2 separate regions of the Homo sapiens genome follow, and region 1 is linked to region 2. The links are contacts of gene promoters, found by promoter capture Hi-C in human tissues and cell types (Jung and others, 2019). All regions are on one chromosome and are shown on one strand. The core of a region is centred on a gene start or on the middle of the fragment in contact, and the rest is flanking DNA. Distances in the headings are between cores, read along the strand shown.

Evidence for each region. The method cuts DNA at HindIII sites, captures the fragments that hold promoters and counts their contacts. A contact is called where the count stands out against the background at its distance.
Region 1: a fragment that was not itself captured here is called in contact with the fragment with the promoter of DNAH5 in region 2 in 1 of the 25 tissues and cell types used here (lymphoblastoid cells).

What each region holds. Positions count from the first base shown.
Region 1 is chr5:13,243,858-13,247,736 of GRCh38, forward strand. No RefSeq gene overlaps it. Among named protein-coding and RNA genes, the nearest start is that of LINC02220, 210 kb to the left of the region's middle. The HindIII fragment of the contact is 4,832 bases long and covers 1-3,879 here.
Region 2 is chr5:13,942,436-13,946,078 of GRCh38, forward strand. DNAH5 (dynein axonemal heavy chain 5) reads right to left here and starts at 2,253. Exons shown (of 79, transcript NM_001369.3): 1 at 1,947-2,253. The coding sequence starts at 2,003. The HindIII fragment of the contact is 17,200 bases long and covers 1-3,643 here.

The DNA.
Region 1 (3,879 bases), core at 845-3,344, 700 kb before region 2:
TCAGGACTTAACCCCATCATAAGTCAAAGAGCATCTGTATTAATATAGGGTAAATTTATTTAAGACTGTATTGTAAAATCATAGGCTTTATTACTATTGTCATTCTTTATCATTGATCCTTTGCCTGCATGAGAGGTGAGGCAGCAAGCTGCCATTGCCAGATCCCACCTCATACTTAGAGGCGACAGTGTGCTGGCAGCCCTCCCAGCCCTCGGCACCTCCTCGGCCTAGGCACCCACTCTGGCTGCGCTTGAGGAGCCCTTCAGCCCACCACTGCACTGTGGGAGCCCCTCTCCGGGCTGGCCGAGGCCGGAGTCAGCTCCCTCTGCTTGCAGGGAGATGTGGAGGGAGAGGCACGGGCAGGAAGCGGGGCTGGGCCAGCATGAGTTCCGAGTGGGCTGGGCTCAGTGGGCCGCGCACCTGGAGCGGCCGGCTGGCGCCACCAGCCCCAGGCAGTGAGGGACTTAGCACCCAGACCAGCAGCTGCGGAGGGTGTGCCTGGTCCCCCAGCAGTGCCGGCCTGCCACCGCTGCGCTCAAATTCTCACAGGGCCTCAGCTACCTCCCTGTGGGGCAGGGCTTAGGACCTGCAGCCCGCCATGCCCAAGCCTCCCCCAGCCATGGGCTCCTGCACAGCCCAAGCCTCCCCGACAAGCGCCACCCTCTGCTCTGAGGCGCCTGGTCCCATCAACCGCCCAAGGGCTGAGGAGTGCGGGCGCACGGCACAGGACTGGCAGGCAGCTCCGCCTGCAGCCCCAGCGTGGGATCCACTAGGTGAAGTGAGCTGGGCTCCGGAGTCTAGTGGGGACTTGGAGAACCTTTATGTCTAGCTAAGGGATTGTAAATACACCAATCAGCACTCTGTGTCTAGCTCAAGGTTTGTAAATGCACCAATCAGTGCTCTGTGTCTAGCTAATCTAGTGGCAACTTGGAGAACCTTTATGTCTAGCTAAGGGATTGCAAATACACCAATCAGCACTCTGCGTCTGGCTCAAGGTTTGTAAATGCACCAATCAGCACACTGTATCTAGCTAATCTGATGGGGACTTGGAGAACCTTTATGCCTAGCTAAGGGATTGTAAATACACCAATCAGCACTGTGTGTCTAGCTCAAGGTTTGTAAATGCACCAATCAGTGCTCTGTGTGGACTTGGAGAACTTTTGTGTCTAGCTCAGGGATTGTAAATACACCAATCAGCACTCTGTCTCTGGCTCAAGGTTTGTAAATGCACCAATCAGCACTCTGTACCTAGCTAATCTGGTGGGGACTTGGAAAACCTTTATGTCTAGCTAAGGGATTGTAAATACACCAATCAAAACTCTGTGTCTAGCTCAAGGTTTGTAAATGCACCAATCAGTGCTCTGTGCGGACTTGGAGAACTTTTGTGTCTAGCTCAGGGATTGTAAATGCGCCAACCAGCACCCTGTCAAAATAGACCAAACAGCTCTCTGTAAAACAGACCAATCAGCTCTCTGTAAAATAGACCAATCAGCAGGATGTGGGTGGGGCCAGATAAGGGAACAAAAGCAGGCTGCCTGAGCCAGCAGTGGCAACCTGCTCGGGTCCCCTTCCACAGTGTGGAAGCTTTGTTGTTTCACTCTTTGCAATAAATCTTGCTGCTGCTCACTCTTTGGGTCCCCACTGCCTTTATGAGCTGTAACAGTCACTGTGAAGGTCTGCAGCTTCACTCCTGAGGCCAGCGAGACCACGAACCCACTGGGAGGAATGAACAACTCCAGACGGGAGGAACGAACAACTCCAGATGTGCCACCTTAAGAGCTGTAACACTCACTGCTAAGGTCTGCAGCTTCACTCGTGAAGCCAGCAAGACCACGAACCCACCAGAAGGAAGAAACTTGGAACACATCCAAACATCAGAAGGAACAAACTCTGGACATACTGCCTTTAAGAACTGTCACACTCACTGCGAGGGTCCGCGGCTTCATTCTTGAAGTCAGTGAGACCAAGAACCCACCAATTCCGGACACAGTACTACTGATTCCTCAGAGAACAAGCCCTAAATCCCCAAAACTGTGCAATTTAGAATTCTATAACTGAATTATAGTACTCTTGATTAAAAAGAGAAAATATCTAACAATTTTTCTCTTGCCTTCTCCTGAAAATATTTTTTAATATTAACTTCTTCATGCTTTGATTTCCAGCATTTCACCATAGAATACCTCCAGGGTGAGAGCTATTTTGCATTTTTAGAGGCCTCCTTAACCTTTTCTCTGTGGCATTTGAGGAATTCTGACTGCAGTGATCACACAGGGCAAGCAGTAAGGGAAAGCAAGGGCAGTCCTGCCTTTGTCTCTTATTTGTTGCAGTCTTTAAGGATGAGAGGGAGAAAAGGGCTCTCTGATTAATTTCATGCCTTCAAGTTTCTGCAATCCCATGACATATTGGCGTTCTTTCCTTTTACGATTGCGACTTTGCTCTTGTACTTCTTTGCACACTCCTGCAATGGAAAGCTAACCTTTATGCTTTTACAGCCTGATGTGGCTCGGAGTCAAAGCGAAGTTGACAATCAAAGGCTAGGATGGCATTTGAAAGGAAGACCTTACCAATGGGGCTCACAGTAGGAGCTCTCTAAAGCCCGTAAGTGTACCTTTTGAAACCAGTCTTTTCTGCATATCATTTGTGACTAAAATACTAATACTGTTAGTGTTCAAATTTTATTCCAATTCTCTTTAGACTATGCACGCTGCCATTCTCCGTGTTCACAGACCTGATGTTCAGATCACTGGACAAAGTACTGGGCGTTTATTCTGATTTTATAACCGCTCAATTTCCTTTAGGGTTATTTTACTCATTGATGTGTATTACACAGCCACAAGGTGATTACCCATAATGCATTTTCCTGCTTAAACATACTGACAGTAAGACTAGAGATTATAATGTATTCTACTTCTCTGTGGAGATGACAATGCCAACCCTTAACCTCTGGGACTTTTAGATACGTGGCAGAGATTTGGTTTGTTTGTTTTGCAGTGCACTCATCTCCTCTCTATCTTCCTCTCACCATCAAGTGCACATGTTAGAATGAAGTCACAATATTCAACACTACTTTTATTGGCTTCATACACAGTAATACCAAATCTATTGTAAATCTTTTTGAGGGGGAGGAAAGATGGGCAGAAATAGGATGTAAGACAAACAGAAGTGTGGTTATAGGAGGGCACGATTTTCTCTTTCTTTCTTTATAAGAAAAGGTACTGTTGAGACAGAAAAAAAGGAGAGTTGGCTAGGCTTGGTGGCTCATGCCTGTAATCCCAGCACTTGGGGAGGCCAAGGCAGGAGGACTGCTTCAGCTCAGAATTTTGAAACCAGCCTGGGCAACATTTATGTAAAAAATTTAAAAAAAAATAGCCAGGTGTAATAGCATGTGCTATTACGTTCCCAGCTACTTGGGAGGCTGAGGTGGGAGAATCACTTGAGCCTGGGAGACCAAGGCTGCAGTGAGCTGTGATTGTGCCACTCTACTCCAGCCTTGGCTGGAGCAAGACTGTGTCTTAAAAAAAAAAAAGAGTTATTGCTAATTTAATATCATATTATCTTTATGCTACTGGAAGGGCCATCATTATCATTGCCTATGCTCCACAGTAAAAAATATATATATGATTAACCAAAAGATTTAAGCTTTAAGGAGGAATATTTTTCTCTAGTTTCTGCCTCTCTGAAGGAATTGTGGAGAGCCCAGACCTGCATGCTTTCTTAAGCCAGGAGCTGAGGGCAGAGGGTAAAGCAAAGTGGGAGAAAGTTATCTAGCAAATCCAACATGAGGAGATAAAACACTGACAAAAAAAAGGTATCACTATAGAAAATAACTCTGGTAGAAACAAATACAGAAACATTTTGTACCCTGAGTACTTGGTGTAT
Region 2 (3,643 bases), core at 1,003-3,502:
CTATCTTATCAGTTGACAAACTTTCCTTGCTTGGCCAAACTTTAGTCAGGTTCCTGAATCTTCTCCTAGGCCCATCTGTACACTTCCTTGTAAAATCTAGTTTTAGCAAAGAACTCTGCTAAGTCAGTTAACAAGAACCCCTGTAGAGGGTACTCAATATCTGATCACCGTCAGTCGCTGATTGGGTTCCTCATCCTCCACCATCCCCCACGTGCTGTCTCATCCCCCTGGCCTTTCTTCAGCAAGAATCCTGGTAGGTCGTCAGTTTAGCCAGAATCCCCCTCCCCATTGATGTCTCCTCTAAGCACTTTCCTATCCACTGACCCCTGCCCTGCTCCTTGGCTACAAATCCTCACTTGGCCATGCCATATTCACAGTTGAGCCCAATCTCTCCCATCACTCCCCAGATAGGTCCTTATACCTAACACGACGGTCGTGAATAAAGTCTTACTTTACCATGCTTTACCAAGTGTCACTGAATAATTTTTTTTCTTTAACACAGTGCACTAAGTAGAAACTGTGTAATTATTTACATAATACACTGCAATACTATTAAGGTAATTCTGTTAATATTATACTTCAGTGGAGTGAACCAAACCAGCATCCTAAATATATAATTGAAACCTCCAAAAGACTTGACTTACTCTCAAAACATAGTTCATGTCAAGGAAGAATAATTCATTAATTATACCTGAGATTTTATCATCAATTGTGGTGTTTCAGACTTGGTACTGAAGCACAGGAAAAATGTTCAGACATGTGAAATGTTTAATTCATTCAACTTATTCCACAAGCATATATTAAGGACCAAGCATATACTATGGACCAAGCTCTGTGTTAAAGGAAGATTATTTTAAAATGGAGAGAACTCGCAATCTAGCAAGAGAAAGAGACATGTGGGTAAATGTCATTTCACTACAGTGATGTGACAAGGACTCTATAAGACATCGAAGGAAAGTGCTGACAGGGTACAGGAAGGAAACTCACACCTCCTCCTCAAAGTGTCAGGGGACGCTTCTCAGAGGAGGTAACACTAGCACTTGGTCTTGAAGAATAAGCAGTGCATGGACTGGCTGGAGTCAGCTCTTCCAGAATGGTCTTCTAACTCTAGCAAGCAAGTTCAGGGGCTTGGCTGCAAGACGTTCACCTTGGGAAGGATGCATCAGAATCTTGTGGCTTGGGCAAGTGAGGGGTGGCAGATGGTGGCATACTTAAAAAATTCAGAGGTAGATGCCTGCTCTTTTGTGGTAAAAACAACAGGCTAGGGGGGATCATGTGAGCTTCTGGGGATACACAAAAAGACACAGTGATCAAGCCCAGTAGGAAGCATGGGTTAATGGTTGAGAACTGAGTCCTAGAGAAACCTCCAATTTCTTCTGACGTTAATTGGCAGTGGAAGAGGTTTCCAAATCCCTCTCTATGCATTTGCATAATAAAAAGCTGCTGAGCTGAGCCCTGTGCTAGGGAAGTTCATTCTTCAATGTGATTTCCAAAGGCACAGCCTTGCATCTCACTGTCTGTGACCTCATTTGCAGGCATATAGAACAGGGGAGTGATTTCAAAGCCTAAACCTTGCAGCCTAGAATCTGCCTTAACTATTTCTAATCACCAACTAAAGTTTACAGGTTTGAAAGAATACAAAGTGCCCAAACCACTATGAATGTGTTTTTGACCCCAGGAAAGCATCTTCCCAAAAGATGCAGCATGAATTTCTAGGTGCGTAGTTTAAGCGGCAACGTGCAGAAAAGCCTACAGATGCAAAATTTTTTTTATTTAAAAAATGAATATGTAGCCTATGCACCAGGTGAACATTAGTTAAAAAATGTGTTTCTCGCAAATTCATCAGTGTGTGACTTTGAACCTTTTTCAAGTTTGTTTTTTCCACCCAGGTGTGACAGATGATAATCCAAAACACACATGCAAAGGTACAGACAACAGCACCTTACCGTTAAAACTCGAGTGACGCTATGCTTCCAGAGCTGTCTCCTCCCAATCCTAAACATTGTAGCCGTGCATGGACAGGCTGGAGTCAGCTCTTCCGGAATGGTCTTCTAACTCCTGGCAGACCTGCTCAACATCCAACAGGCTTCCAAATGGAAAGTTTTACTTCCATTTTACTTTCACGTTTCTAATTTGCATGTATTATTCACTACATTCACAGAATAAAAATTAAAACTCCACTTATACCACTCAAGTTTTTCTCCTAGAGTGTCTGCCCTGGGCCTCTCCTCTCTCTCGAAGCCTGGTGTTGTTAGGGTAATATTGTTTATACACTATACAGTTGAACCATGCCTCTTAATCATGTTTATCAAGCAATCAAAGCATTTTAACTGCTCGGTAGCAACACAACTCCTTCTGTTGTTCAATTAATTCTATTCACTGCCCAATAATAAGCATTGAGTCAACAGTGATATCTAAATAGTTTCTTTGAACAATGAGAAACTTTAAACCATATCAGATTAGAAATCCAAGAAGCCACAGCTCTGAATATATTGTCCATGTCGAGAAACTCAGTCTTACTTTGTGTAAACAACTTTGCAAGCACGATGCACTGCCAGCATTGTGACTAATTGTGACTAATTGCCAGATAGGCTAATTGTGACCCATAGGAGCCATTTTCTCCACCACAAAGAACAAGAAGTCTGTTTCATATGCAAATAGCAAACCATGTCCATAAATTACTTGTGCTCACACAGTTGCACATACACTTCAGCCAAGGTAATTTATCCTATGTGGCTAAACATCTTGATCATCTTAACTGTGAAGATGTAATGGGAAAACACTGCCAAATGCTTTGAGAGATCTCTCATGTATGGTTTCTCCCATCGAGTTGAATAAAAGGCAGGACACTTAAGGTTGGTCTTGTTGAATCTAGAATTTAGTCCTTGGAATTCACAGTCCAGCAACTCAAATCCTAAAAGGTCATCCAAGGATAATCAGGAAATTGGGAACTCATCCTGGTAACATCCTGCTAGTCAACCTCTGTGGAGCCTGACTTGGAAGGCAGGGTGCTGACATGGTTTCAGAACATGGAGATTCACTTGGTCCATATCCAATGCTAGGGCACGGACGGCCTCCATATGTCAGGTTAACAGACAACATTTAGACCTCAATATTATTTGGTAAGTAAATAACTAGAACACAGGAAGTTTAAGTTTGTTTGCAGGATTTTTTTTTTCTTTTTTGAGACCTGCAGGTCTCACTCTGTCACACAGGCTGGAGTGCAGTTGCGTGACCACCACTCACCACAGCCTCAACCTCCCAGGCTCAGGTGATCCTCCCACCTCAGCCTTCCTAGTAACTGGGACTACAGGCAAGTGTCACAACACGCGGCTAATTTTTGTATTTTTTGTAGAAACAGGTTTGGCCACATTGCCCAGGCTGGTCTCAAACTCCTGGCCTCAAGCAATTGCCCACCTCGGCCTCCCAAAGTGCTGGGATTATACGCATGAGCCACCAGGCCAGGCCCTGCAGGATATTTGTTGAAGTCAACCTCTGGTTGTTGGTAAGCGGCTGTTGTCCGTTTCTAATAAAAAGTGTTGAAGACAGTATCTAGACTCTGAGTCCCTTCTCTGTGTGGTGCTGAAGACACCAGAAAATAGCAGTAGGATCGGATCCTCCTCACATGGCATCTCCTATCCAT